5 separate regions of the Homo sapiens genome follow, and regions 1, 2, 3 and 4 are each linked to region 5. Evidence: promoter capture Hi-C in 16 types of primary human blood cells and fetal thymus (Javierre and others, 2016). All regions are on one chromosome and are shown on one strand. Each heading gives the region's core, a stretch centred on a gene start or on the middle of the fragment in contact. The rest is flanking DNA. Distances are from core to core; before and after follow the strand shown. Region 1 overlaps LMF2 (lipase maturation factor 2). Region 2 holds the start of SCO2 (synthesis of cytochrome C oxidase 2). Region 3 overlaps MOV10L1 (Mov10 like RNA helicase 1). Region 4 holds the start of MOV10L1 (Mov10 like RNA helicase 1). Region 5 holds the start of PLXNB2 (plexin B2).

What was found. Contacts are between HindIII fragments. The CHiCAGO score rates a contact against its expected background, and 5 or more counts as called.
Region 1: a contact is called between a fragment that was not itself captured here and the fragment with the promoter of PLXNB2 in region 5, in 6 of 17 cell types (naive B cells, M0 macrophages, naive CD8 T cells and 3 more). The highest score is 7.9, in naive B cells.
Region 2: the fragment with the promoter of SCO2 here is called in contact with the fragment with the promoter of PLXNB2 in region 5 in 8 of 17 cell types (naive CD8 T cells, M2 macrophages, monocytes and 5 more); the score reaches 7.8 in naive CD8 T cells.
Region 3: a contact is called between a fragment that was not itself captured here and the fragment with the promoter of PLXNB2 in region 5, in 2 of 17 cell types (neutrophils and naive CD8 T cells). The highest score is 5.7, in neutrophils.
Region 4: the fragment with the promoter of MOV10L1 here is called in contact with the fragment with the promoter of PLXNB2 in region 5 in 2 of 17 cell types (neutrophils and activated CD4 T cells); the score reaches 6.6 in neutrophils.

Annotation. Positions count from the first base shown.
Region 1 is chr22:50,497,119-50,503,233 of GRCh38, forward strand. It overlaps LMF2 (lipase maturation factor 2), which reads right to left. Exons shown (of 14, transcript NM_033200.3): 14 at 5,831-6,115. Among named protein-coding and RNA genes, the nearest start is that of LMF2, 7.5 kb to the right of the region's middle. The HindIII fragment of the contact is 833 bases long and covers 3,396-4,228 here.
Region 2 is chr22:50,524,348-50,527,166 of GRCh38, forward strand. It overlaps SCO2 (synthesis of cytochrome C oxidase 2), which reads right to left and starts at 1,251. Exons shown (of 2, transcript NM_005138.3): 1 at 1,125-1,251; 2 at 1-77. The coding sequence starts at 64. NCAPH2 (non-SMC condensin II complex subunit H2) reads left to right here. Exons shown (of 20, transcript NM_152299.4): 20 at 1-433. It overlaps TYMP (thymidine phosphorylase), which reads right to left. Exons shown (of 10, transcript NM_001953.5): 6 at 2,818-2,819; 7 at 2,229-2,391; 8 at 1,899-2,129; 9 at 1,654-1,794; 10 at 1,405-1,571. The coding sequence ends at 1,423. RefSeq lists silencers at 923-1,222, 1,433-2,262 and enhancers at 2,353-2,652, 2,461-2,819. The HindIII fragment of the contact is 21,491 bases long and covers 1-2,819 here.
Region 3 is chr22:50,135,840-50,141,117 of GRCh38, forward strand. All of the region lies in intron 15 of MOV10L1 (Mov10 like RNA helicase 1), which reads left to right. Among named protein-coding and RNA genes, the nearest start is that of PANX2, 32 kb to the right of the region's middle. RefSeq lists a silencer at 4,039-4,223. The HindIII fragment of the contact is 7,627 bases long and covers 1-5,278 here.
Region 4 is chr22:50,086,512-50,091,780 of GRCh38, forward strand. It overlaps MOV10L1 (Mov10 like RNA helicase 1), which reads left to right and starts at 3,495. Exons shown (of 27, transcript NM_018995.3): 1 at 3,495-3,674. The coding sequence starts at 3,578. The HindIII fragment of the contact is 7,134 bases long and covers 1-5,269 here.
Region 5 is chr22:50,306,396-50,312,233 of GRCh38, forward strand. It overlaps PLXNB2 (plexin B2), which reads right to left and starts at 1,251. Exons shown (of 37, transcript NM_012401.4): 1 at 1,158-1,251. DENND6B (DENN domain containing 6B) reads right to left here. Exons shown (of 20, transcript NM_001001794.4): 20 at 2,635-5,838. The coding sequence ends at 5,744. RefSeq lists an enhancer at 1-104 and silencers at 412-562, 1,083-1,152, 1,163-1,362, 1,523-1,572, 2,273-2,322. The HindIII fragment of the contact is 14,640 bases long and covers 1-2,721 here.

The sequences.
Region 1 (6,115 bases), core at 2,562-5,061, 190 kb after region 5:
TGCCAGCTCTCTGCCCCAGCTTGTCCACGACCTTCTCCTCAATACACAAGTGTGCACCCCTGTCCAATCTCCCACTTAATTCACAGGACAGCTCTAGATCTCTGCTTACTTGCCAGACAGAGACAGTCAGACACCTGGACCGTGGCACCCACCTGTCCAACCTCGCCCAGCTCAGATCACCAACCTCATCGATTTCCTTGCAAAACTTTTGACTTCCGCCTTGGACTTTTGCCCCTTAAAATTTTATCTCTGCAGAGTTAGAATATGACATTGCTTTGTCGATACCATAATAATAAGGCTACAGTAAAGGGAGAGCTATTCCCTCCCAAATTACATTTTCTCTAGATTGGGCCACTCTTGCCATTTTAAACTTTCATTTATTTACTTATTTTTATTATTTTTTTTTGAGACAGCGTCTCGCTCTGTCACCCAGGCTGGAGTGCAGTGGTGCGATCTCGGCTCATTGCAACCTGCGCCTCTCAGGTTCAAGCGATTCTCCTGCCTCAGCCTCCTGAGTAGCTGGGATTACAGACATGTGCCACCATGCCTGGCTAATTGTTGTATTTTTAGTAGAGACAGGGTTTCACCACGTTGGCCAGGCTGGTCTCAAACTCCTGACTTCATGTGATCCACCCGCCTCAGCCTTCCAAAGTGCTGGGATTACAGGCATGAGCCACTGCGCCCAGCCTCATTTCTGGTCTCTGTTCCTGCTTTTCCTGCTCGGCGAGCCACACAGCTAGAATCATCTCACCAGCCAGGGCCTCTGCCCGTGGTTCTTGTGCAGCTCTGGAGAGCTGCTCTTCCCATCCAAAGGTCTTCGATCCCCTACAGTCCACAGTTCCCAGTTCTCCCCTCCACGTGCATGGAAGCAGGACACCCCAATCTCATCTCTTTTTTTGTTTCTTTTAAGAAACCAGGTCTTGCTCTGTTGCCATGCTGGGAGTGCAGGGGTGCAATTAGAGCTCACTGCAGCCTCGAACTCCTGGCTCAAGTGATCCTCCTGCCTCAGCCTCCTGAGTAGCTGGGACTACACGTTCAGGCCACCACATCTGGCTACATTTTAAATTTTTTTTTTTGTAGAGAGAAGCTCTTGCTATGTTGCCCAGGTGGTCTTGAACCCCTGGCCTCAAGTGATCCTTTTGTGGCTTCCCAAAGTGCTAGGATTACAGGAGTGACCGCTGTGCCTGGTCGTCTCACCTTCTTTTGACATGGAGCCCCAGCCTTGGGAGGCAGATGCTGAACCGTGTCCACAGTGCCCCCTTCTGGAAATTCTCCACAAGCCAAGGTTTTGGACAGCTCCAATGTCTGGGGCTATGGCATTTCAGGCGGGAAGTCTCTGCAGAGAGCAGTACCTGCCTTCATCCCTTCCTAGATATTAATTCACTTTCAGACACATACTGAGCAGCTAGTGTGAGCTGTTACGGTGCTGGCTCTGCAGACAGAGCTGCAGCGAAGACAGACGCCAACCCCACCCTCACACAGCCAATCCTGTGCTAGTTTTTTCTGTAGAACCACCACTGGGTTTCCAGTTGGTCTGGGTTATCTGGTGAACTCAGAGACTTTCGCTGTCTTCTGGACACTCCACAACAGTCCAATCACCTGCGGGGACCCTGACCTCTGCAAACCTCCGGGGGGTGGTTCCTTGGTTGGCCGCCCTCCTCTGACGGCTCCGCCTCCCTGCCGAGCCCTGGGATCGTCCTCCCTGGCTCCTGCCTTCTCTCTCATAGGATCTCATTTGTTCTGACACACTTATTCTCAAGCCCAGTAGTTACTCTTGAATATTGCTTATAGAGGTGTGTTTCCTTGAATATTCAAGCATATGTGTTATGTAATGGGTAATAATAAAGTAGGAATGTGCATATATGAATCAGCACAAAATAACTAAAAAAAATCCCATCTCCAAAGTCACTGACTATTGACAAATTCTGGACCTACTTCTCCGTTTGTTGTTTTTTTTTTTTTTTTTTTGAGACGGAGTCTCGCTTTGTCGCCCAGGCTGGAGTGCAGTGGCGTCTCGGCTCACTGCAAGCTCCACCTCCTGGGTTCACGCCATTCTCCTGCCTCAGCCTTCCAAGTAGCTGGGACTACAGGTGCCTGCCACCACGCCTGGCTAATTTTTTCTATTTTTTTTAGTAGAGATGGGGTTTCACCATGTCAGCCAGGATGGTCTCGATCTCCTGACCTCGTGATCCACCCGCCTCGGCCTCCCAAAGTGCTGGGATTACAGGTATGAGCCACCGCACCCGGCCTATTTTTATTTTTTCTTGAGACGGAGTCTTGCTCTGTTGCCCAGGCTGGAGTGGTGTGGCACGATCTTGGCTCATTGCAACCTTCGCCTCCCAGGTTCAAGCGATTTTCCTGCCTTAGCCTCCCGAGTAGCTAGGATTACAGGCACACACTACCATACCCGGCTAATTTTTTTGTACTTTTAGTAGAGACAGTGTCTTGCCACGTTGGCCAGGCTGGTGTTGAACTCCTGACCTCAGGTGATTTGCCCGCCTCGGCCTCCCAAAGTGGCGGGATTACAGGCGTGAGCCACCGCGCCTGGCCCAGATTCTCTTTTTATAAAATTATGATTGTATCACTTAACTATTTCTTCTCGACAGTTGTTATACACAAAGGCAGTAGCTCATTCCCCTAATGGATCCCTTACTTAGCTATCACCTCATAAACAGTTTCCAGCTAATGAGTGTAATATACACAGCAGCCACAAATGTCTCCATGCAAATTTTTTTTTTCTTTTTTAGACGGAGTTTCACTCCTGTTGCCCAGGCTGGAGTGCAATGGCACGATCTTGGCTCACCACAACCTCTGCCTCCTGGGTTCAAGCAATTCTCCTACCTCAGCCTCCTGAGTAGCTGGGATTACAGGCGCCTGCCACCACGCCCGGCTAATTTTTGTATTTTTAGTAGAAACACGGTCTCGCCATGTTGGCCAGGCTGGTCTTGAACTCCTGACTTTGGGAGATACACCCGCCTCGGCCTCCCAAAGTGCTGGGATTACAGGTGTGAGCCACCATGCCCGGCTTAAAAATTTATTTTTGACAAATGCAAGTGGTTTTATTCCTTTTTTTTTTTTTTTGCATTTTACTAGGAAACAGCCTGTGTGTGTTTCCTCCCGGTGCACAGCCTATATGGTTCTTTGACCAAATGGTGTCTTAGTCACTGCATCTGTTAGAGACTCAGCTTCTCATCAAATCAGTTCTATATAGGCTGGGCGTGGTGGCTCACACCTGTAATCCCAGCACTTTGGCAGGATGGTGGGGGGGGGGGGGGCGGTGGATCACTTGAGGTCAGGAGTTCAAGACCAGCCTGGCCAACATGGCGAACCCCGTTTCTACTAAAAATACAAAAATTAGCTGGGTGTGGTAGCGTGCACCTGTAATCCCACACAAAAGCTTGCATATCCAATGTTCACAGCAGCACTATTCACATAGGAAAGGCGGAAGCCACGCAAGCGTCTATCGATATACGAATGAATAAGGACAGGGAAAACGTGGCCCCTCCGTACACTGGACTGACTCAGCCCTAAAGGAACACAGCGCTCATACGTGCTATGACGTGGGTGTGGCCTTGAAAACACCGTGCTGAGTGAAAGAAGCCAGACACAAAGGTCCCATGTTACTGATCCAATTTACAGGAAATATCCAGAGTAGGTAAATCCACAGAGACAGAAGGTAGATGAATAGTTGCTTAGGGCTTGGCAGGGAGGGGTCAGAGGGCAAAGGCTAAAGGGTTTGGGGTTTCTTCTGGAGATGAAAGGTTCTAAAATGGCCTCCGGGCCAGGCGCCGTGGCTCATGCCTATAATCCCAGCACTTTGGGAGGCCGAAGTGGGCAGATCTCCTGAGGTCAGGAGTTCGAGACCAGCCTGGCCAACATAGTGAAAACCCATCTCTACTAATAAACTACAAAAATTAGCCCGGTGTGGTGGTGCACGCCTGTAATCCCAGCTACTTGCAAGGTTGAGGCAGGAGAATCGCTTGAACCCAGGAGGTGGAGGTTGCAGTGAGCCGAGATTGTGCCACTGCACTCCAGCCTGGGTGACAGAGTGAGACTCCATCTCTAAATAAGTAAATAAATGGACTCTGGTGATAGACGTGCAACTCTGTGAATAAACTGAAAGCCACTGAATTGCGCACTTGAACGGGTGAATTGTGTAGCACGTGGCTTACCAAGAGAGCTGCTACACAAAACAAAACACAGAACGCATTCATCAAGTGAGCTTGAAAGCTTAGGAACATCAGGCCGGGCGCGGTGGCTCACACCTGTAATCCCAGCACTTTGGGAGGCCGAGGCAGGCGGATCACGAGGTCAGGAGATCGAGACCATCCTGGCTAACATGGTGAAACCCCGTCTCTACTAAAAAAAAAATACAAAAAATTAGCCAGGTGTGGTGGCGGGCGCCTGTAGTCCCAGCTACTCAGAGAGGCTGAGGCAGGAGAATGGCGCGAACCCGGGAAGTGGAGCTTGCAGTGAGCCGAGATCCTGCCACTGCACTTCAGACTGGGTGACAGAGCGAGACTCCGTCTCAAAAAAAAAAAAACTCAGGAACATCAGCCTGGGCAACAAGGGGAGTGTGGGTGGTGATGGCAGCCTGAGGCAGGAGAATCATTTGAGCTCAGGAGTCTGAGACTGCAGTGAGCCACAACTGCACCACTGTGCTCCAGCCTGGGCAACAGAGTGAGACCCTGTCTAGAAAGCCAAGAAGCCTAGGAACAGGTTTTTTAGTTTTAAACATATTACTTTTTTTTTTTGAGATGGAGTCTCACTCTGTTGTCTAGGCTGAAGTGCAGTGGCATGATCTCGGCTCCCTGCAACCTCTGCCTCCCAGGTTCAAGCGATTTTCCTGCCTCAGCCTGTGGAGTAGCTGGCATTACAGGCACCCGACACCATGCCCAGCTAATTTTTGTATTTTTAGTAGAGATTGGGTTTCACCATGTTGGCCAGGCTGGTCTCGAACTCCTGACCTCAGGTGATCCACCCACCTCGGCCACTCAAAGTGCTGGGATTACAGCCATGAGCCACAGCGCCCAGCCTATTATTAAGCCAAGGCTGACTTCTCGATTGTTTATTCCATGTATAGGAGCCCCTTGAAGACATCTGAGAGTTCACGCCACAGGCTGTGTTTGAGCACAGGGCTCTGCCTGGGTGGGCCAGATGGAGGTCAGTGACATGAGGGAGCTGGGTACATTGGGAGCTGCCCAGGGGTCTGGCAGGAGACCAGGAGGCAGGGGCTGTACCAAGAGGACGGGCCAGAGGCAGAGGAAGCTGTGCTGTGAGTTTCCAGGGTGGGCAGTGACCTCTGATTGATAACCTGACCCCAAATGGAAACCTGGACGGTGCCCTGACTGCTGTCTCTGCTGCTGTTCTCTTCCCAGGATGGAGGCCAGGGGCATCAGATGCACCTTCCCTCCTCCGTCCCAACCCAGGGCCTCCAGCTACCCTCCCCCTGGCCTCACTCTGCAGAGGAGCCTCTTCTAACCTGCCCACCTCATCTCTCCTTCTCCCCTTGCCCACTCTGGCCCTTCCGTCCTTTCCTGAGGCCAAGAAGTGGGAGCAGGAGGGAAGTGAGGGACCGGCTCCACCACCGACCTTGGAGTGTGGAGCTGACAGGTCCACCGGGCTGTGCCAGGCCTGAGGCTCCTCTGTGATCAGGCAGTGGGCAACACCAAGCCAGGCCTCTTCAGAGAGAATGCTGAGGACGGGGCAGGAGGGTGCCCAGGGAGCCACGCCGTGGCGGAGCCTGACTGTGCTCTGGGCGGCCCACTGCCTGGGGCAGGGGAGACAATCCCATCCTCATGCCTCCTGGGAAAGCAGCACCAGGCACACAGCCAAGCACAAAAGACGCCTTTATTGGTGCCCAGATCTAAAGGGCAGGATGGGCTGGTGTGAAGATGACGTGGAAGATGACAGTGCTTCCCCTCTTCCCCTGGGAGTCAGCCTCTTCCCCTCTGGCACGGGGCCTAGGGTTGGGGGCTCTAGACTCAGACCCCCACAGCCCAGGGCAGGGGAAGGGTCTTGAGCTTGGTCGTGTTTTCCTCCTGGGCCAATCACAGAGGCAATAGTGGGAGTCCTGGGGAGGGGCATGGCTGGCGTGGGGGTGGGGCCTGGAGCC
Region 2 (2,819 bases), core at 1-2,500, 220 kb after region 5:
GGACCCGAGGCTTGAGCTGAGAGAGCCTGTGCCAAGCTGTGGGGCTCCGAGTCAGCAGCAGCATGGATCTGATGCTCCTGGAAACAAGCACAGGCGTCAGGAGCCAGAAGGGAAGGCCCAGGACAGTGCCTGGGCTGCCCCTGCGACTTGAGACCAGCCACCCATCTGAAGGACCCAGCCCACGTTCAGGCTTAACAGGCATTTGCAGCTGCTCACCTGAGCTCAGAACTCCACCTCCACCAAACATCCACACCTGGGCAACCACACCTGTCACTCCTGTCCTCTACCTGGGATCACCAGCCTGTCACCGCACCCTGCCCTGCACCTGCACCTCAGCAAGGTGAACCTCTTGCTGACGGAAAGCATTCCAAGTGCATGCCTTGCCTGAACTAACCACGTTATCTATTTGCAATAAACCCATTTCTTAAAAGGAGGTGGGTAACTCTCTGGCTTGCAATCCCCGAGAGCAACCGATTCCTCCAACACTTTCCTGTTACCTCCAGCCACTTCAACCAACCGCGGCCTTCCTCCACACTCCCAGCAGAAAACCTGCACGACCTACCCCCGGAGCTCAGACTCTGCCCGCCGGCTGTGTTTAACCTCTCCTGGCAGAGACGCACGACACTTCCACCCGCCACAAAACCCCACCCTCCTCACATCCAGGCTTCCCAGCAGCTCCTCCGGGCTCACAGCCGACGCCCTGCCTTTGCGTTGGTGACCTTTGAGCCTTTCCCACGGGCCCCCGCAGAAGGTTTGCTAGGTGGAGGTCTCAGGACTCCCGGTCACTGCCCCCTCCTGCTGAGGGCACCCTCCCGAGGACTCACTGCACCCCCGCCCGGGCGGTTCTGGGTTTGTGCCCTCCCCAGCAAGGCCAGCGCCCTCGTGGCCAGAAAGGTTCCAGGACCACTCGAAGCGCCGCGCGAGCGCGTTATAACTGTGCTTGGCCGCGAGAACACCGGTGCCTGCTGGGAGCCTCCCACGGGCGCCCCAGCCTCGCTCCGGCCTCCAGCGCGCCCTGGGGTGTGCCCCGCCAGCCCCGCGCAGTAGCCGGAGCTGGGAAACTACCCCGGAGTCCAGCGAGTCCTCAGGGCTACCTCCTCCCCTCCCAGCCCCGGCGTCCGCACCTCGCGGCGGGGCCGCGCGTCAGTGGACCAAGCACGAGAGGAAGCGCCGACCTCCAGCTCCCTGCGCTCTGCCCCGCCGGCTCAGGGAAAGCGGGCGCCACACGCTCACAGGCAGGGCGCAGGCGTCCCCGGAGCTGCGCATGCGCACACGGGCGCAGCCGCTGACAGGCTCTCAGCGCGTGCGCGGAAGGCGGAGCCCGCCGGGGGTCACGTGTTCATCGAGACGGCCCCCGCCTCCGCAGCCCTGGATCCTTCCGCTCCCGCCCAAGCACTGACAAGGTTTCGCGGCAAAGGAGCTTTATTGCTGCGGCGGCAGAACGAGCTCTGCGAAGGGCGAGGGGGCGGCGAATGGCGCGCGGTCGGAGAGTACGAGCGCCTCCTGCAGGGCGCGGCTCTGCGGGCCGCTGAGCGCGGGGCCGTCCCGGTGCACGCGGAGCCAGGGGGTCCCTGCAGAGCGAGGGGCTGTTAGAGGCCGCGCGGCCGGAGCTGGGCGGGGGTGCGGGGCCAGCAGGGCGGGGGCGGCGCTCACCACGGCGCAGCCTCTGACCCACGTCGACCAGCAGCTCTGCGCCCACCCCCAGGCGGAGCGGCTCCCCAGCGCGGCTGCGCCCGGCCCCGAGCTCGTGCAGCACCAGCGCCAGCGGCAGCGCCCGGACCAGCTCCACGGTGCCTGCGGGGAGAGGGGCTGAGAGGCGCGGGCTCGGGAAGGGGCGGGGCCTCGGGAAGGGAAGGGGATGGCGGAGGCGGAAGGACGGGGACTCCCCCGACGCTCACCATCTGCGGGCGCCAGCAGCTCCTCCTGCTCCCGGGCGCGAGGCAGCAGCTGCCGGCGTTCTGCGGGACTTCCCGAGCACAGGGCTCGGGCCAGACCGGGATCCACGCCCTGCGCCGCCAGCATCCGCTCGAAGCGGCCAAGGGCCGAGCCGTCGTCCAGCGCCGCGGCCACCCGGGCAGCGCCCTGGGCCTGAGTCCCCGCGTGTCCGCTGAGCCAGAGCAGGGCGCCCCCTGCGGGCGGGGACGGGTCTTAGGCGCGGCCGGGTCGGGGCGGCCCCAGCGGGAAGCACCCCCCGCCGCCTCCGCTCCCCTACACCCCGTCCCCCTCACCGAGCGTGGTGACCAGGTCCCTTAAGTCTGGCGGGCCTGCGCCGTCCATGCAGAGCAGCGCCTCCTCCACCTCCAGGGCGTGGCCCACGCAGCGACCCAGGGGCTTGTCCATGGCGGTCAGCGCTGCCGCGACCCGAAGCCCTAGGCTGGCTCCCACGCCAACCTGCGGAGAGGAGGCTCAGCGTGGACCCCCCATGGCGGGGCCTTCTGCAGCCGGTTCTTGGTCGAACTCCAGCCCCTGCTGCACCCTGGGTTGCCAGCCCCCCAGCATGAAGTCAGGGAAGGATTGGGGTGGGGAAGAGACACGAGTGAAGTGCGACACCTCGCCATGGGGCCAGGAGGAACTTGTACTTGGTCTGGGGCAGGAACGCCACAGAGGGCTTCCCCAGGTCCAGGCCGGGCCAGCCTTGACCTCTAAAGTCACAGCAGGTTAGGAAGCCGTGAAGGAGGGAGGGACTTCGGGCAGAAGAGGGTGGGACTGGGGTTAGGCAGGACTGCTGAGTGGAGGGAGGCAGTGGGGACGGGAGGGGTGAAGGGTAGGCTGGGCCCGCATCAAGACGCTTGCCCAGGGAAAGGCCACACCGCTCACCA
Region 3 (5,278 bases), core at 2,491-4,990, 170 kb before region 5:
CAGTATATTTTTGTGAATACAATAGAAGTGGTTTTATTTATCTTCATGTTTCTAGTAACAAGAAAATCATCTGTGTCATGGTGGAGCTTACAACTTATTTTGTGCTATTCAAATTTGGTTTTATGAGCATGTTTTCAATGTATAACATGAATTTTTAAATTATATCTAATACTCAAAAATGCTCACCATTTTATAGTTCCTCCCCCAAAATGCAAAAATGATAGGTTTAGAATGCCTATACAATCATGGAAAATACGACAAATGAAGCAGCAAGAGGTTATCCTTGAAAGTCATCTGTGGCATATTTCATAGTTGATCTCTTTTTTGTTCTGCAAATAGAAAAGAGTCTTCCTTGGACAGTGCTTTTCTTCTCCGTCATCACCTCATTACTGGTTCATTCTACTGCCTGATTCTCGGGGAGAGTCTGTGGTGCAGATGGCATGTGAGATCAGGGAGGTGTTACTATTTAGGTGGGCACATTCCTAATTGACTGTAGGTTTTAAAACCTGAAACTTTATCTTCTTATGGATTAACTAGATTGAAAATAAACTCAAGAATATTTCATATGTCAACCAAGATAGAATTTCAGGGACCAGATTTATCTTCCTTCCTGAAACAATAAAAAATCAGACAAACTATATGGAACAACAATTTCAGACATTAACATCAGCTATCATAGGACAGGGATTCCTGAGAGAGGAAACAAATGAGGTGACCTCATGGTTTTCCCAACTCACAGCCTTCCGAGAGTGTCTAGGCCAGAGAGCACCAAGAGGGAGCCCAGGCGGAGTGCAGTGACCTGAGTACAGAGACAGCATTTGGAAGGGTGGGGAGGACAAGGGGGATAAAGCTGACAGAGTAGAGTGCTGGGGAGAGGGCAGGGGACAGAGAGCAGCTGGGCACCTACAGAGATTCCTTCTTGAGTTTTCAGCTGAGCATTGATCAGTGCATGATGTGAGTAAAATACCCAGGCCTGGAAAAGAACCAGCTGGAAGGAGGAGCAAGAACAATCCTTAAAAGTTGACACAGTGCCAGAAATAGCTGTGCCCACAGCCAGAGAAGAAAAACCTCGTAATTCACATGTAGAATCCATGGGAGGGTGTTGTCTCAGGAGCGTAGAAAGTCCAGCCTTTGACTGAAGGCTGCTCCGGCCCAGACTGACAAAGTATGATAGCCTCAAAAGAAGCAAGCTGTTCCCAAATAATTGGATTACATCCCAGAACAAAGTTTAAGAATATTTATAGGAATATAAAATTATCCAGCACCCAGCAAGGTATAAAATGGACACTGACATCTGGTTACAAAATGAAAAAGTGAAAAACGTAACCCAAAAGGAGAAAATTTAGTCAATTGGAACCAACCCCCCCGAAATAACATGGTGGAATTAGCAGACAAGGACATTAAAACAGTTATAAATATGTTCCATGTGTTCAAGAAAGTAGAAGACATGAGCAGGTTAAGTGGAGACACGAAAGATATATAAAAGACAATTTTATCTTCTAGGAATGAAAAATTCAATGCCTAGAATGAAAAATATATTGGACAGAATTATCAGCAGACTAGACAATGCAGAAGGAAAAATTAGTGAACTTGAAGACGGAGCAATAGAAACTATCTAACATGGAACAGAGGCGGAGGCTGCAGTGAGCCGAGATCGCGCCACTGCACTCCAGCGTGGGCAATAGAATACAGCAAGACTCCATCCCAGAAAAAAAATTAGCTGGGTGTGGTGGCATGTGCCTGTAGACCTAGCTACTCAGGAGGCTGAGGCAGGAGAATCGCTTGAAACCAGGAGGTGGAGATTGCAGTGAGCCAAGATCATGCCACTGCGCTCCAGCCTGGGCGACAGAGCAAGACTCTGTCTCAAAAAATACATATGTATATACACATATATATATTTTATATATATACATATATAAATATACATATTTTATATATATACATATATAAATATACATATTTTATATATATACATATATAAATATACATATTTTATATATACATATATAAATATACATATTTTTATATATACACACATATTTTATATACACATATTTTTATATGTATACATATATGTATCTATGTATATGACACATGTATATGAGACCAAGAGGGTTCATCCCAGGAATGGCTTAACATTCCAAAAATAAATGTGTAATATACCATATTAACAAACTGAAAAGGAAAAACCATATAATCATGGCAGTAGACTTGGAAAAAGCATCTGACAAAATCCAGCATCCATTCCTGATCAAAATTCAGCAAACTAGAAATAAAAGGAAATTTCTTTTACCTACAAAAACCTACTTAGTGATAACTGAATGTTCTTTGCTTGTAAGATCAGGATCAGGGCATGTTTCCTCAGCATTTCTGCCCAGCATTGTGCATTGTAGACAGGCAATGAAGCAGAAAGAACAGGCATCCGCATCCTGTAGAAAGTCTGATGGAGGCCGGGTGTGGTGACTCGTGCCGGTAATTCCAGCACTTTGGGAGGCTGAGATGGGAAAATCACTGAGAACAGCCTGGGCAACATGCAAGACCCTGTCTCTATTTTTAAAAAGTTTAAAAATTAGCTGGGCATGGTGGCACACACCTGTAGTCCCAGCTACTCAGGAGGCTGAGGCAAGAGGATCCCTTGAGCCTGGGAGGTTGAGGCTGCAGTGAGCTGTGATTGTACCACTACACTCCAGCCTGAGTGATGAAGTGAAACCCTGTCTCAAAAAAAAAAAATAGAAAAGAAAAAAAATCTGATGGAATCTAAAATGAAGCTGTTAGAACTAATAAGTGATTTTGCAAGATACAAGATCAGTGTAGAAAAATAAGTTGTATATATATTTCCAGTAAACACTCAGAAATTGTTTTTTGGTGTTTTGTTTGTTTGTTTTGAGACAGTCTCGCTCTGTTGCCCAGGCCGAGGTGCAGTGGCGGATCTCGGCTCACTGCAACCTCCGCCTCCCAGATTCAAGCAGTTCTCCTGCCTCGGCCTCCTGAGTAGCTGGGATTATAGGTGCGTGCCACCACACCCTGCTAATTTTTGTATTTTTAGTAGAGACAAGGTTTCACCATGTTGATCAGGCTGGTCTCAAACTCCTGACCTCATGATCCGCCCACCTCAGCCTCCCATAGTGCTGGGATTACAGGCGTGAGCCACCATGCCAGGCCTGAATTTTTTTTTTTTTTTAAGTAGCACCTAAATGTTTTAAACATTAGGGATACATCTGACAAAAGATGGGCAACAAAAGACGTAAATCAATGGAGGGAGATATTAGTATCTCTTGGGCCGGAAGATTCCATATTATCAAGTTACCTGTTTTACCTCACGTGGTCTGTAAATGCAGGGCACGCGCAAAACATGGACCTGGGTCCATAGCTCACAGCGCAGACAAAAACTAACTTACTCTGCGGTTTATAGCCGCAATGTCAAGCCTAAAACTATGCATCTAGGAAACAGCATAGAAGAACATCTGCACGTCCTCTGTTTGGGCAAGGATTTTTTTTTATGTGACACTAAGAGCATGACTTACAGAGAAATGGATAAATTGGACTTCAGTGAAATTAAATATTTTGCTGCTGAAAAGACATTGTTAGACAGTAAGGTACAATGGCATACACTTTTAGTCCCAGTGACCCAGGAGACTGAGGCTGGAGGATCTCTTGAGCCCAGGAGTTCCAGGCTAGCCTGGGCAACATAGAAAAACTCTGTCTCAAAAAAAAACAAAGAAAAAAAAAAGACACTGGTAAGACAATGAAAAGTGACAGACTAGAGAAAATATTTGCAAATCACATCTGATCAAGAACTTGTATTCGGAAAACATATGAAAGTACTCTACAAACTGCCTAAGAACTCAATTTTTTATAATGGATCAAACACTTGAACACTTTACCAGAGAATACATACAGATGGTAATAAACACATGAAAGATGTTCAACATCATTAGTTGTTAGGGAAACACAAGTTAAACCACAATGAGGTACCACTGAACACCTGCTAGAATGGCCAGAAATTGAGTTGGGCCATCTGCGCGTTGGTGAGCCCGTGGGGCCGCTGGCACGTACCCTGCTGTGGGAATGGGGAGTGGCACACCACTGTGCAAAAGGTGTTTTTAAGAAGCTGGACGCGCACCTGCCATACAACCCAGCCATTTCTCTCTAGAGAGATGAAGACATAAGGCCACGTGAGGACCCATACACAAAGTTCACAGCAGCTGGGTTTTTAATCACCAAAAACGAAACAACCCAGTGTCCGTGAGCAGGTGAATGGATAAGCAAGTTGCATTGTGTTCGTACAATGGAACATGACTCAGCAATACAAGGAGCAAACTGTTGACATGCAACAACACAGGTGGCTCTCCAATGAATCACACTGTGTGCATTTATATGAAGTATGAAGTTCGAGAGCATGTGAGCCAGCCAGTGCCACTGGAGGGGCTGCGGCACAAGGCGGCTCTGGGGACTGACAGGTCTATTTGTCATCTTGATTGTGCTGATGGTTTTATGGGTATGTGCACGTCAGACTTGTCAAGTCACACACTTTAAATATGTGCACCTTATTGTATGTCAGTCACACTCTGCAAAACACAATGGTTGTGGGAGGAGGTTATAGGCATAACCTTCTAGACCATGGGTGTCCAATCTTTTGGCTTCCCTAGGCCACGTTGCAAGAAGAATTGTCTTGGGCCACACATAAAATTCACTAACACTAATGATAGCTGATGAGCTGAAAAAAATATGTATCACAAAAAAATCTTATAGTGTTTTAAAAAGTTTACGAGTTTGTGTTGGGTTGCATTCAGAGCCATCCTAGGCTGTATATAGTCCATGGGCCGCTGGTTGGACAAGCCTGTTTTAGACTAAAACTTAGCAATGTGTGTAAATTTTTTAACGTGAAACTTTTTTTTTTTGAGACAGAGTCTTCCTCTGTCCTCCTAACTGCAGTGTAGTGTCGCAATCATGGCTCACTGCAACCTTGACCTCCTGGACTCTAGCAGTCCTTCCACCTCAGCCTCCTGAAGTGCTCAGATTATAGGTGTGAACCACTACCCCTGGCCCCAGAACTTTTGATTTTATAGATTCCAGAATCTATCCTATGAAAATAATGAAGTTATTTAACAAAGAATTACAGATCATAATGAAAAAAATTGAAAATCCCACTGGTTCAGGACAAATACTACTTACATTGGAACACACAGAAAACCAATTCTTGTGTAGGATCCTTTTTTTTTTTTGTTTTGAGACAGAGTCTCGCTCTGTCGCCAGGCTGGAGTGCAGTGGCACGATC
Region 4 (5,269 bases), core at 2,245-4,744, 220 kb before region 5:
ACTATCTTTTAAAGCGATAAACGGGATTAGTGGGAGTGGGTCCAACTGGATCGAATCCTCCTGTGTTTCTTTTTGTTTGGAAAAAAATGTTAATCGGATTTCAACATTTTTTTCTTTCAAAAGTTGCTCTCCACTTAGAAATACAAACAAGCTGCCCTGAACCAGAGGTTGCAGAGCAAATCCCTCAGCTTCCCAGATCATAAGTCATCACTTGAGAAATGCTCCCAAGTTTCTGTTGGCAACACTAGTTTCTAGAACAGGCCCTGTTCTTTCATACAATCTTCCAACAAATTCTTGCTCCTAAAATGCCCTTCATCCCTCTGCCTGCTGATGTCCCATCATCATTCAACATTCAACAAACATTTATGGGGTGGACAAAGAAGTGACGTCCTTCCTATAGGCTGTTTACATTCATTGGGGGCACAGGAGTGCACAGGATAAACAAATTAGTGTGTTATACAGTGATATGGTTTGGCTGTGTCCCCACTCAAATCTCATCTTGAATTGTAATTCCCATAATTCCTACATGTCGTGGAAGGGGCCCGGTGGGAGGTAATTGAATCATGGGGGTGGTTACCCCCATGCTGCTGTTCTCCTGACAATGAGTGAGGTCTTATGAGATCTGATGGTCTTTTATAAGGGGCTTTCCCCGCTTTTGCTCAAGACTTCTCCTTCCTGCCACCTTGTGAAGAAGGACATGTTTGCTTCCCCTTCCACCATGATTGTAAGTTTCCTGAGGCCTCCTCAGCCCTGTGGAACTGTGAGTCAATTAAAGCTCTTTCCTTTATAAGGACTTGACTCTAAAATTACCCAGTCTTGGGTATGTCCTTATAGCAGCGTGAGAACAGACTAATGCATCCAGTGACACACATGATTTCCTCTATGAGGGAAAAGAAGTCAGGGGAGAGAAATGAGGGGCTGCTGTTTGCAGGGGCCAGGGCAGGCCTCAGTGAGAAGGAGGCAGGGAGGGGAGGCTGGCAGAGTTGAAGCAAAGGCCACAGGTTGGGGAAGGCAGGCGAGGACCATGCAAGGGGGATACAGGTAGGACAGCCAGGTGCCAGCACCTGTGGGTATGGAGACGACTCTGCTTCAACTCTGAGACAGACCTGCTGGAGGGGTCTGGGCAGAGCAGCATCCGGTCACTCACTGGGTGGAGAGCAGGCTGGGGGGTGGGAGGAGCAGGTGCTGCCTGGCATTGAGGTGGCAGTGGGCAAGTGGTGAGGAGGGACTGGGCTCTGAACAGGGTTTGAAGAGCGGACGCAATCTGCTGTCAGGGCGACGTTGCTGAGTTCTGTCTGAGCAGTGAGGACAGAGATGAGAAGACCAGGGTGGAGCAGGTGTGGAGCGAGGATCTGGAGTTCCATTCTGGACATGATGAGGCCGAGATGTCTGTGGGCATCTGCCGGGTCTACTGAGTCCAGAATCCCAGGGAGTGGCCCGAGCTGGGGAGCTGAGGGGCAGCCCTGCAGGCACAGCACCCGCTGCGAGCTGCCCTGGCAGGGAGCCCATGAGCCACCAGCCCTCATGCAGCTCGCTCTTGTTTCCAAGCTAATCTCCCACCAACCAGTAGGTCCCTGGGACCCTGCTGGCTCCTGTATGTGTTCCAGCACCCAGCCCAAGACACAGGCTTAGCGGGGATTTGAAATGCTAGGGAGTGCGCCACTCTCTCCCTTCCCACAGCAAGAACTATCAGTACACTCTGCATCCATGGACAGGCAAGGTCCAGGCTGTCATCAGACTGACAGATCTGACCTAGGAAAATAAAGCTATGTCAATCAAAAATAAGTCGGGGCTGGGCGCAGTGGCTCACACCTGTAATCCCAGCACTCGGGAGGCCAAGGCGGGTGGATCACCTGCGGGTCAGAAGTTCGAGACCAGCCTGACCAACATGGTAAAACCTTGTCGCTACTAAAAATACAAAAAAAAAAAAAAAAAAAAAAAAAAAAAAAAGCCAGCGTGGTGGCGCACGCCTGTAATCCCAGCTGCTCTGGAGGCTGAGGCAGGAGAATCACTTGAACCCGGGAGGTGGAGGCTACAGTGAGCTAAGATCATGCCACTGCATTCCAGCCTGGGCGACGGAGCAGGACTCCATCTCAAAAAAAAAAAAAAAGAAATAATAAAAAACAGAAACCACTGGAATAGTAAAGATATATATACGTATTTTGTTTTTGTTTTTGTTTTGAGGCAGAGTCTTGCTCTGTCTCCCAGGCTGGAGTGTAGTGGTGTGATCTCAGCTCACTGCAACCTCCACCTCCTGGGTTCAAGTGATTCTTCTGCTTCAGCCTCCCAAGTAGTTGGGATTACAGGCATGCGCCACCATGCCTGGCTAATTTTTTTTGTATTTTTTTGTAGAGACAGGATTTTGGCAGGTTGACCAGGCTGGTCTCGAACTCCTGACCTCAAGTGATCTGCTCACCTTGGCCTCGCAAAGTGTAAAGATATTTTTAAAATAGAGAAAAATCAATGAAATCAAGGGATGATTTTTTTTAAAAACTCAATAAAATTGATAAATATAGACTGATCAAGGAAAATGAGAGGGATGAGATAAATTACCTATGTCAAGAATGAAAGATGGCTCATCATTATGGACCATACAGACGTTAAAAGGATAATAAGGAAATATGCTGAACAACTTTATGCCAATAATCTGACATCTAATAATTGGATGAAATGGACAAATTCCTTAAAAGAATTACCAAAGTTTATTCAATATTACCTTGATAACTTGAATAGCCCTCTAGCTGATGCAGAAGTGAATTTCTCATTAAAAACCTTCCCACAAAGAAATCTCGAAGCCCAAATGGGTTCCCCAGCGAATACTACCACAATTTTTAGGGAATAAGTTACCCCATCCTACTCCCAGGTCACTGCAGGCCCGGCTTAAACCGACCCCAAACCAGACAGACACAGAAAACGGGAGGTCGGCCACAGAGCAATCTGCTTCACCAGCACCGTCCCCAACCTTGGACAAAGCGTTACCAAGCTGAGTCAGGCAATACACCAAAAGGATAACGAATCGTGACCAAGTGAGTTTTCCAAGGAGAGCCAAACAATGTAATTCCCTATGGGCTGAAATAAAAAGCTACAGGATCATTTGAATACATGCAGAAAAGCGTTGCAGAAAATTTCACACCCACTCATAAGAACTCTTGGAAAAACAGGAATAGAGGGAACTTCCTCAACTTGATAAAAAACACCAACAAAAAACGACTCCTAACATCACTCTGGGTGGTGAAAGCGCACTTTTCCCTAATGTGTGGGCGGCAAGAAGGCGGACCCGCTCGAAGCTCCGCCCACCCACGCGAGGCCCCGCCCGCCCGCTCGAAGCCCCGCCCACCCGGCGGTCACACCGCCTTGCGCGCTCGGCATGACGTCACTCCCACCAGGCACCTCGCCTTGTCAGGAGCTGCCAGGCGCCAACCGCCGACCTCTGACCGCTACGGGTCCCGGCTCGCGCAACGACCCCAAGGCGCATGCCCAGGCGCGGCGACCCCATTGGTGGCGGGCGGCGGGAGCGGCGCGGGCGCGTGCGGGCGGCGGCAGCGGCGGTGACGGCAGCCTAGGCCGGGCGAGGGCCATGCTGAGCCTCGCAGCCAAGCTGGTGGCCTTCTTCTGGAGGACGGCGGACACCCCTAGGGAGGAAGCCGGGCAGCTGGAGCCCGAGCTCGCGGAAGGTGGCTCGCGGGAGGCGGCTGGGAGGCGGGTCCCGGGCCCTCGCGTGTCGGCCACGAGGGAGCCGCGCCCATAGGTCTTTGAGTGCAGTGCGGGCCGGCAGGCAACGCTGGGCCCGGCCTTTCCTCATCTCCGCTGGCGGGGATCCCCGTTCGCCTCAGGAGGCTTCCGACCCCACAGCATCCCGCCGCTCTGGGCGCCCGTCCTCTGTGAGGTCTCTCCGGTGACACCAGCCCCTCTTCCCGCCCTCACTTTGTGTGTTTACGCCGAGCAGCTGCCAAGTCGTCTCTCCATGTCGTTCCTCCCTGTCCGCAGCGTCATTGGCGGTGGTGTGTCTAGAAAGCCCCGAAAAACGCGGCCCCGCAGACTTGGCCTGTCCTTTCAGAACGCGCTGCGCCAAGGCGTGCCATTTCCTTGTCTGGTTTTCAAGCCCATCTTTCTAAAGCCCGGGATGCGCCCGGATGCCCTCACCGTTCCTTTCTCCTGAGGTGTTTGTGTGTGTGTGTGTGTGAGACGGAGTTTCGCTCTTGTTGCCCAGGCTGGAGTGCAGTGGCGCAATCTCGGCTCACCGCAACCTCCGCCTTCTGGGTTCAAGTGATTCTCCTGCCTCAGCCTCCCGAGCAGCGGGGATTATAGGCACCCGCCACCACGCCCGGCTAATTTTTGTATTTTTAGTCGAGGGGGGGTTCGCCATGTTGGTCAGGCTGGTCTCGAACTCCTGATCTCAGGTGACCCACCCACCTTGGCCTCCCAAAGTGCTGGGATTACAGGCTTGAGCCACCACGCCCGACCTCTCCCGAGGTTCTGATGGCTTCTCCCGATGTTTCCTTATGTGGGAATGGAATCCACAGTAGTGGGTCCCTAATTGCCTTCTGTGAGAAAAGACAGGAACAGGCTTCAGGAGGGGAGCTTCCTGCTGCAGGCAGCGTGTTCAGGGCCTCTGGATCCACGAGGGCCGATGCCCGGGGGGCCGGCTGTGTTACCTGGAGCACTTGCTCCGTGGATCTCTTCGGTAGAACACGCGCTCAGCGGTAGCTGGAGCTCCAGCTCTTGGCAGCGCTCAGATCCTATGCCTGTACTGTAACCGTCGCCCCAGGTTCCTCCCGTGGCTGGGAAGCTGCAGTAAAGGCACGTTCAGGACTCAGGACCGTGGCTGCAGCAGTGGCCAGACGGCTGAGGGCGTGCGCTGCTCCTGGGCCAGACTTGTCTGCCCAGCCCCGAACCTTTTCCAGCACCGTGTTTGTTGAGATTCTCCAGTCTTCCGAGGCTGCTGCTGATGGTAATAAAAAGATAATCGATAGTACTAATAAAACCGTGCATGCTAATGACTCCCAGATGCTGATATAAGTGGCCATTTACATAGCACTTAACGCGTGTCAGCCACGCAGAGGTCCATACATGCACGTGTGTTCTGCCACTTAACCCTTCAGCAGCTCTCTTGGGTAGTGACGATTAGTCTCCATCTTACAGATGGCAACAGGCCCAGAGTAGTTAAGGACCTAGTCCAGGGTTACACCAATGGCAGTAGAAGAGCTAGGAGTCAACCCCATGCAGTCTGTTGTGGAGTCAGGGCTGTCACCTCCACAACCACTACCTG
Region 5 (5,838 bases), core at 1-2,500:
CCTCACCTCTGGACAGGAAAGGGAGGGCTCCTCCCACCAGCTGTTCAGCTGTTCCGTGCCAGGGTCATCTGGGCATGGGGCAGGCTGAGAGCCCCCACTTCCCGGCAGCCTCGCTCTCCCACCCGCAAAGGGCTCCTGAGGAAGCTCAACTTTAAAGCCTCACAGGCTGCGCCGAACCTCCAAGCAAGGGCCGAAGTCAGACATTAAGTGGGGAGGGCGGGGGGGTCCAGGGAAGGTGGGGCACAGGGAGCCCTCCAGGCCGCCGGGATCTGCCGGGTTTGGGGCCCACCCTCACCCTCACCCTCACCCTCACCCTCACCCTCACCCTCACCCTCACCCCCTGTCCTGACTCTGCCACAGCCCACAGTGGGCAGACGGACCCCTTTCTTCCTTTCCCAGGGAGCTTCGGGAAGAGAAATCAAGGGCCTGGCAGGAAGCCCCAGGGCGTCCGGGCTCTGAGACCCCCAGATGACAGGGGGAGGCGGGCTCCCCAGATCTGCCGAATAGCCCGACCAGGGGCGCTGGCAGGGCAGGGGCTTCCTGCAGGAGCAGGGTGCGGAGGGGCAGGGTCAGCAGGGGACAGGCAGGGCTCGCGCCCCCGCTTCTGAGACTTTCTGTGTCTCGGGGTGTCCACCCAGACGCCACTCTGGGAACCGCGAGGAGGCCCAGGCAGTGGGGTCTCGCCAGGTGCGGGTGCTCTCCGCCCTGGTCCCCCCGCGCCAAGCAGGCCCCAGGGGGTGCGGGGACGGCCCCCGGGAGCTCGGGCAAATCCAGGCTCCTGTGCCGCTGAGCCTGGGGCCGGCCCGGAGCGCCCGCACCGCGAGACCATCTCCGCTCGGCGCACGGAGCTCGGCGGCTGAAGAGTGAGAGGCAGGCGCGGAGGAGGGATCCGACGCGGCTCCGGAGGGACGCGCAGCCCCCGCCGCCGGGCCCGTCCCCCGAGTCAACACCGGGAAGGGAGTGGGGCGGCAGCGGCCCGGGCCTCGCCGGATGGACCGACGGACGGGGCCCAGGCCCCGGGAGCCCTCCGCGGAGCCGCAGCCGCCGCAGGTCCCCGGGCCCCAGCGCGGCAGGCCCGGGCGGAGCGGCGCTGACGGCGAAGCCCCCCCCACGCCCAGCGAGACGTCCCCCGCAGCCCAGTCCCCCGAGCTCGGTACCTGCACGTCCGCCGCCAAGGCTCGATGGCGCCCGGGCCGCGCTCGGCGCTGCGCTCTGGCCCGCGCTGCTGCCATGGAGACGGGGCCTTTGTGTGGCCGAGGAGGGGCCGGAGCGCGCGGGAGCTGCCGGCCCCGCCCCCGACGAGGGAGAGGAGGGGAGGGCGGGGAGAACAGGAGAAGGGGGGAGAGGGAGAGGGAAAGCGGAGGGGGAGAAGGAGGGGGAGGGGGAGGGGGGAGAGGGGGAGGGGGGAGAGGGGGAGGGGGAAGAGGGGGAGGGGGAGAGGGGGAGGGGGAAGAGGGGGAGGGGGAGGGGAGGGGGAGCAGGAGCGGGGAGGAGAGGGCAGAAGAGAACCGGAGAGGAGGGGAGGGGACGGGAGGGGAGGGGCTGGGCCTGCGCTCCCCGCGCCCCCCACTTCTCCCCTGCCCAGCGGCCACAGCATTGTCTGGTAGGTTCAGGCACCCCAGTTCAGACCCAGGTTCAGCCAGGGCAGCACCCTGCCCACCATGCCGCCGTCCAGGAAGCACGAGCGCCCACAGAGGCCCCATGGCCTGAGCACCCCCACAGGAACCCCGCAGGTCTGAGGGGAGGCCATGGCTTGGTACCAGGGGAGGGCATTATGAGTGCACTCTCGCCTGGCCAGAGGAACGTGAGGGTCCCTGCCAGTCTTGAGATGTGTGGGCACCAGACTCTCACTCCCAGACTGGAAGCATACCAGTCGCTCCCCTGCGGCCTTCAGGGGTGGGGGCTGCTGGGCTTTGGCCCTTTCCCAGGGGTCTCAGGCCCTCAACCTCCCAGGGTAAACTGGGACCTGGAGATGGCCTCCCAGCACATCCCTGGCCTCCAGCAGCACCTTGGGATGCTGCACCCGGGACCCCACCTGGTCCTTCAGGGCCAGGAGGTGGGCGGGCCGAGACCTCTTTCTGGGGGTTCTGGTTTCTGGGACAGAGCTGGCCCCACTTCTGGCATCCCAGGTCCCAAGTCCTGGCCTCAGTGCTCCTAGTGTCCCCTGGGCTTGAGAAGAGGTGGTGAACCGTCTGCAGGGCCAGACCTTGGAGCACGCCTCCACTGCCCTCCCGGAACTGGATGTGCTGAGCAGGAGACAGAAGCATTCCCCAAGCTCTTGCCCCCACCCTGGGTCACCCCTCCCTGGGGCCCGCCTTCCACCCAGACCTGCCCCGTCCTTGCAGCTGGTCAGCTTCCTCCTGTCCCCAGCCAGGCATCCCCTCCTCCTCTGCTTCCCCCACCCGGGATCCGCCCCGCCACATCCTGACAAACTCCCCCAGCCTGACTTAGTTCTTTCAGTCTCTGCCTTCTCCCACCCTCAAGCAGCCAGGCCTTGTTCCTGTCCAAAATCTTCCCTTGGGCCTTGAACCACAATCCACATCACGGCAACCCTACCCTTCACTGCAGAGGACCCCAAAATTACCAGGTTCTGACAAGGTTGCCAACTTTTTATCAAAAAAGGAAAAGACAAGGTCCAGTCACAAAAGGACATTTTAATACCAAAACTGTGGGAAGGCCACTGTTCTAGACTAAAAGGGAGTCTTTAAATAGCCAGCAGGAAGCTTGAGGGTGAGCAGCTGTCCTTCCTGTCCCTGAGCAGGCCCCCTGTGTGCACCCTCAGCCCCGAGCCCCACTCCAGACCTGCTCCCAGCCCTTCCCACCCTCTAGGTTCTGTGGTCCCTGTCCTTCGGGAGGCCTGTGACCACAGCAGTCCTCACCCTCGCCAACTAAGTTCTGCCCAGCAAGCCCTCTTGCCTGCGGGGGCTGGCACTCTGGCCAGGGGTAGAGCTGTCTGGACCTTCCTGCCTCTTCACTGACTGCCCCTGGCCTGGAGTGCGTGGGGCGGGGAGGGCCATGGCCTAGCCCTGGACAGAGGCTCAGCCAACTCAGAGCGGCCCTGACACTGGGGGGGCCACAAGAGGCATCCGGACAGATGGAGCTGGCAGGTCTCCACGCCCAGCCCCCACCCATCCACCCCAGGCCACATTCCACCCCAGGCCTCTTCTGCACAGGTGGGGACAGGCCCTGAGGAAGAGGGGCTGGGACACTACCCCCCACCTTAGCCTTAGCTTCTGCCCAGGGCAATGCTGGCCACCCAGCCCGGTTCCCCCCTCAAGTTCCCCCTTCACACGCCACTATGTGGCCTCACCAGAGCCCTCCAGGGAAATCTGCTTGTGCATTTCTGGATACACAGTGGCCAGGGTCCCTGGGGGCTCCTCAGAGACCAGCCTGAAGCCCCTCCCCTGCAGCCATGTGGGTCTGCAGCCCTCTGTGCTGTGCGGCAGCCCTCAGAAAGCCAAGTGAGGCGAGACTGTGCTGTGGGGAAGCACATGCTGCCACGGTCCTTGGGGTGCGCTCCCCAAAGTGGGGTCACAGTTGTGAGAGAGGTGGGTTGTCTTCCCAAGCTGCCCCGACACCTTGAAGTGGTGGTCCTCAGGGGGCTGGTCACCAGCATAAGGCTTTTGCAGAGGGCCCTGGTGGAGGGCAGCTGATGGCAGGGCCTGTACTGGCCCCCCAGGCCCCATCTTATGGAGGTCAGCATTCAAGCTGCCCACACAAGAGGTGCCAGCATCTCTGCAGACCCTCTAGAGACCAAGCCCTCAGTGGGGAGGCTGGTCCCCCTGTGCTACAGTCAGGAGGCCCAAGCTGCATTTGGGGCCAGGACCTTTCTCACCCTCGGGTCCCCGGCTTGTCCCTGCCACAGAACAGGTTTGCCACCTCGGCCTCTATGTGTTCTGTTTCATGTGGTCACATCCTTGGACCCTGCACCAGACATCTGGGGCTTAACAGCTCCCCTTGGTCACCCTCCCGGCTGCCTCCGCGTCTTGTCTGTAGAATGGGAACAGGGACAGGCTGTCCTGGGCTGCAGTTGGGCTGGACAAGTTGACATGTACCAAGTTCTGAGAACTACCTGGCGCCCGGACACCTGACCCCGCTGTCCTTGTGGCTCAGTCACATCCTGCACTGAAGTGGCTGGCAGTGCTCGCTCTCCACCACCTGGCTGGAGGTCTGAGAGCACCAATGAGAACACAAACAGTACGTTGCGCTGAATGAAGGCTACATTCCTCGGACTGAATGGGGGCCTCAGAAGAAAAAGAAAAGTCCCGGCCGGGCGCGGTGGCTCATGCCTGTAATCCTAGCACGTTGGGAGGCCGAGGCGGGCGGATTACGAGGTCAGGAGATCGAGACCATCCTGGCTAACATGGTGAAACCCTGTCTCTACTACAAATACAAAAAATTAACCAAGCGCAGTGGTGGGTGCCTGTAGTCCCAGCTACTCGGGAGGCTGAGGCAGGAGAATGGCGTGAACCCGGGAGGCAGAGCTTGCAGTGAGCCGAGATCATGCCACTGCACTCCAGCCTGGGCAACAGAGCGAGACTCCATTTCAAAAAGAAAAAAAAAGAAAAAGTCCCTCCCCCAGCCCTGTGTCCCCTGGCCAGCACCCGCCCGGCCTCACAGGGTACAAAGCCCAGTCTCCATGAGTGGCCCTCCCAGCACCCTGTCGGGCATCTGCATGGCTGGCTCGCTCAGATGAGGAGTCTGAGGGTCTGAGTGGTCAGGGGACCTGCTCCCGGGCACACAGTGCGTGATGCTGAGCAGGGCTTGGCTGTCCGGAGCCCTGACAGTACCGTCACTGTGTGCTGTGCAGGGTCAACACCGTACCTCACCGGCCTCAGTGCCTGCAGGTGTCACGGGGGGAGCATACAACCCAGAGGTGGCTCTTAGGGACGTTCACCCCTTACCAAGGAAAGGGAGACATGCAGGCTCCAGCCAGAGGCAGGGTCAGGCCGAAGTCCAGAGCCCCTTGGGCTGCATGTGGGGGATGGACGGACACACTTGGACAACAGGAGCCCTGTCCACCTCCCAGAAGGGACGCACGGAGCTGGTGCCTGGTGGGGGCTCCAGGACTGGGAGCCAGGAAGGTGCTGTGGCTCTCCGAGAGCCAGGCTGAGCCAGCTCTCCTAGCAGAGGTGCTGGGCTGCACACAGCCCCCTGCCCAACCCCTACCTCCCAACAAACCACAGCCCCAAGCAGGTGGGTGTCCAGAGGAGCACCAGGGGTGGTGAGCAGAGCTCTTCACACTGCAAAGTGGTCTCTCCCTTTCTCAAGTTGATGACTATATGCAAAATAGCCTCCCATCCCCAGACAAGACGGGGGCTGTGTCAGGAGAGGGTCCCTCCTGTCCTGGGCAGCCTGTTGGGCTGAGGGAAGCATCACACACAGCGCAGGGGGGTCGGGGGCCAACAGATGGGCACCGGGAGGGGCAGACGGTAGACGCACCCACATCAGCAAGGGCTCCCAGCCTGTCCCCGCCCCCGTCCCAGCCTAAGGTCTGCAGAGGCCAGGTGGGACCCAGGAGGAGGCAAGGCTCTGCCTGCGAGGAACCCCTATGGTCAAGGCCATGCTGTGGTTCCAAATGTCGCCTTTACTGCTGAGACAATGGTGGTGCAGGAAGGGGAGCCTGCAGTCTGGGCGGGGGGCCAAGGAAGGGGAGCGTGTGCTTGGCCCAGTGCCGCCACCACTGGGGAGTGGGAGGCTCAGGCAGACCTAGGGCCCTGGGACCGTGGCCCTTGGCTTTGTTCTAGGGAGGGCACAAGACAGCCTGCAGGTCTTTGGGCAGGGAGCCGATGACCGTCTCGATGTACAGCTGTGCCCGCTGCAGCGTAGCCTCCTTCA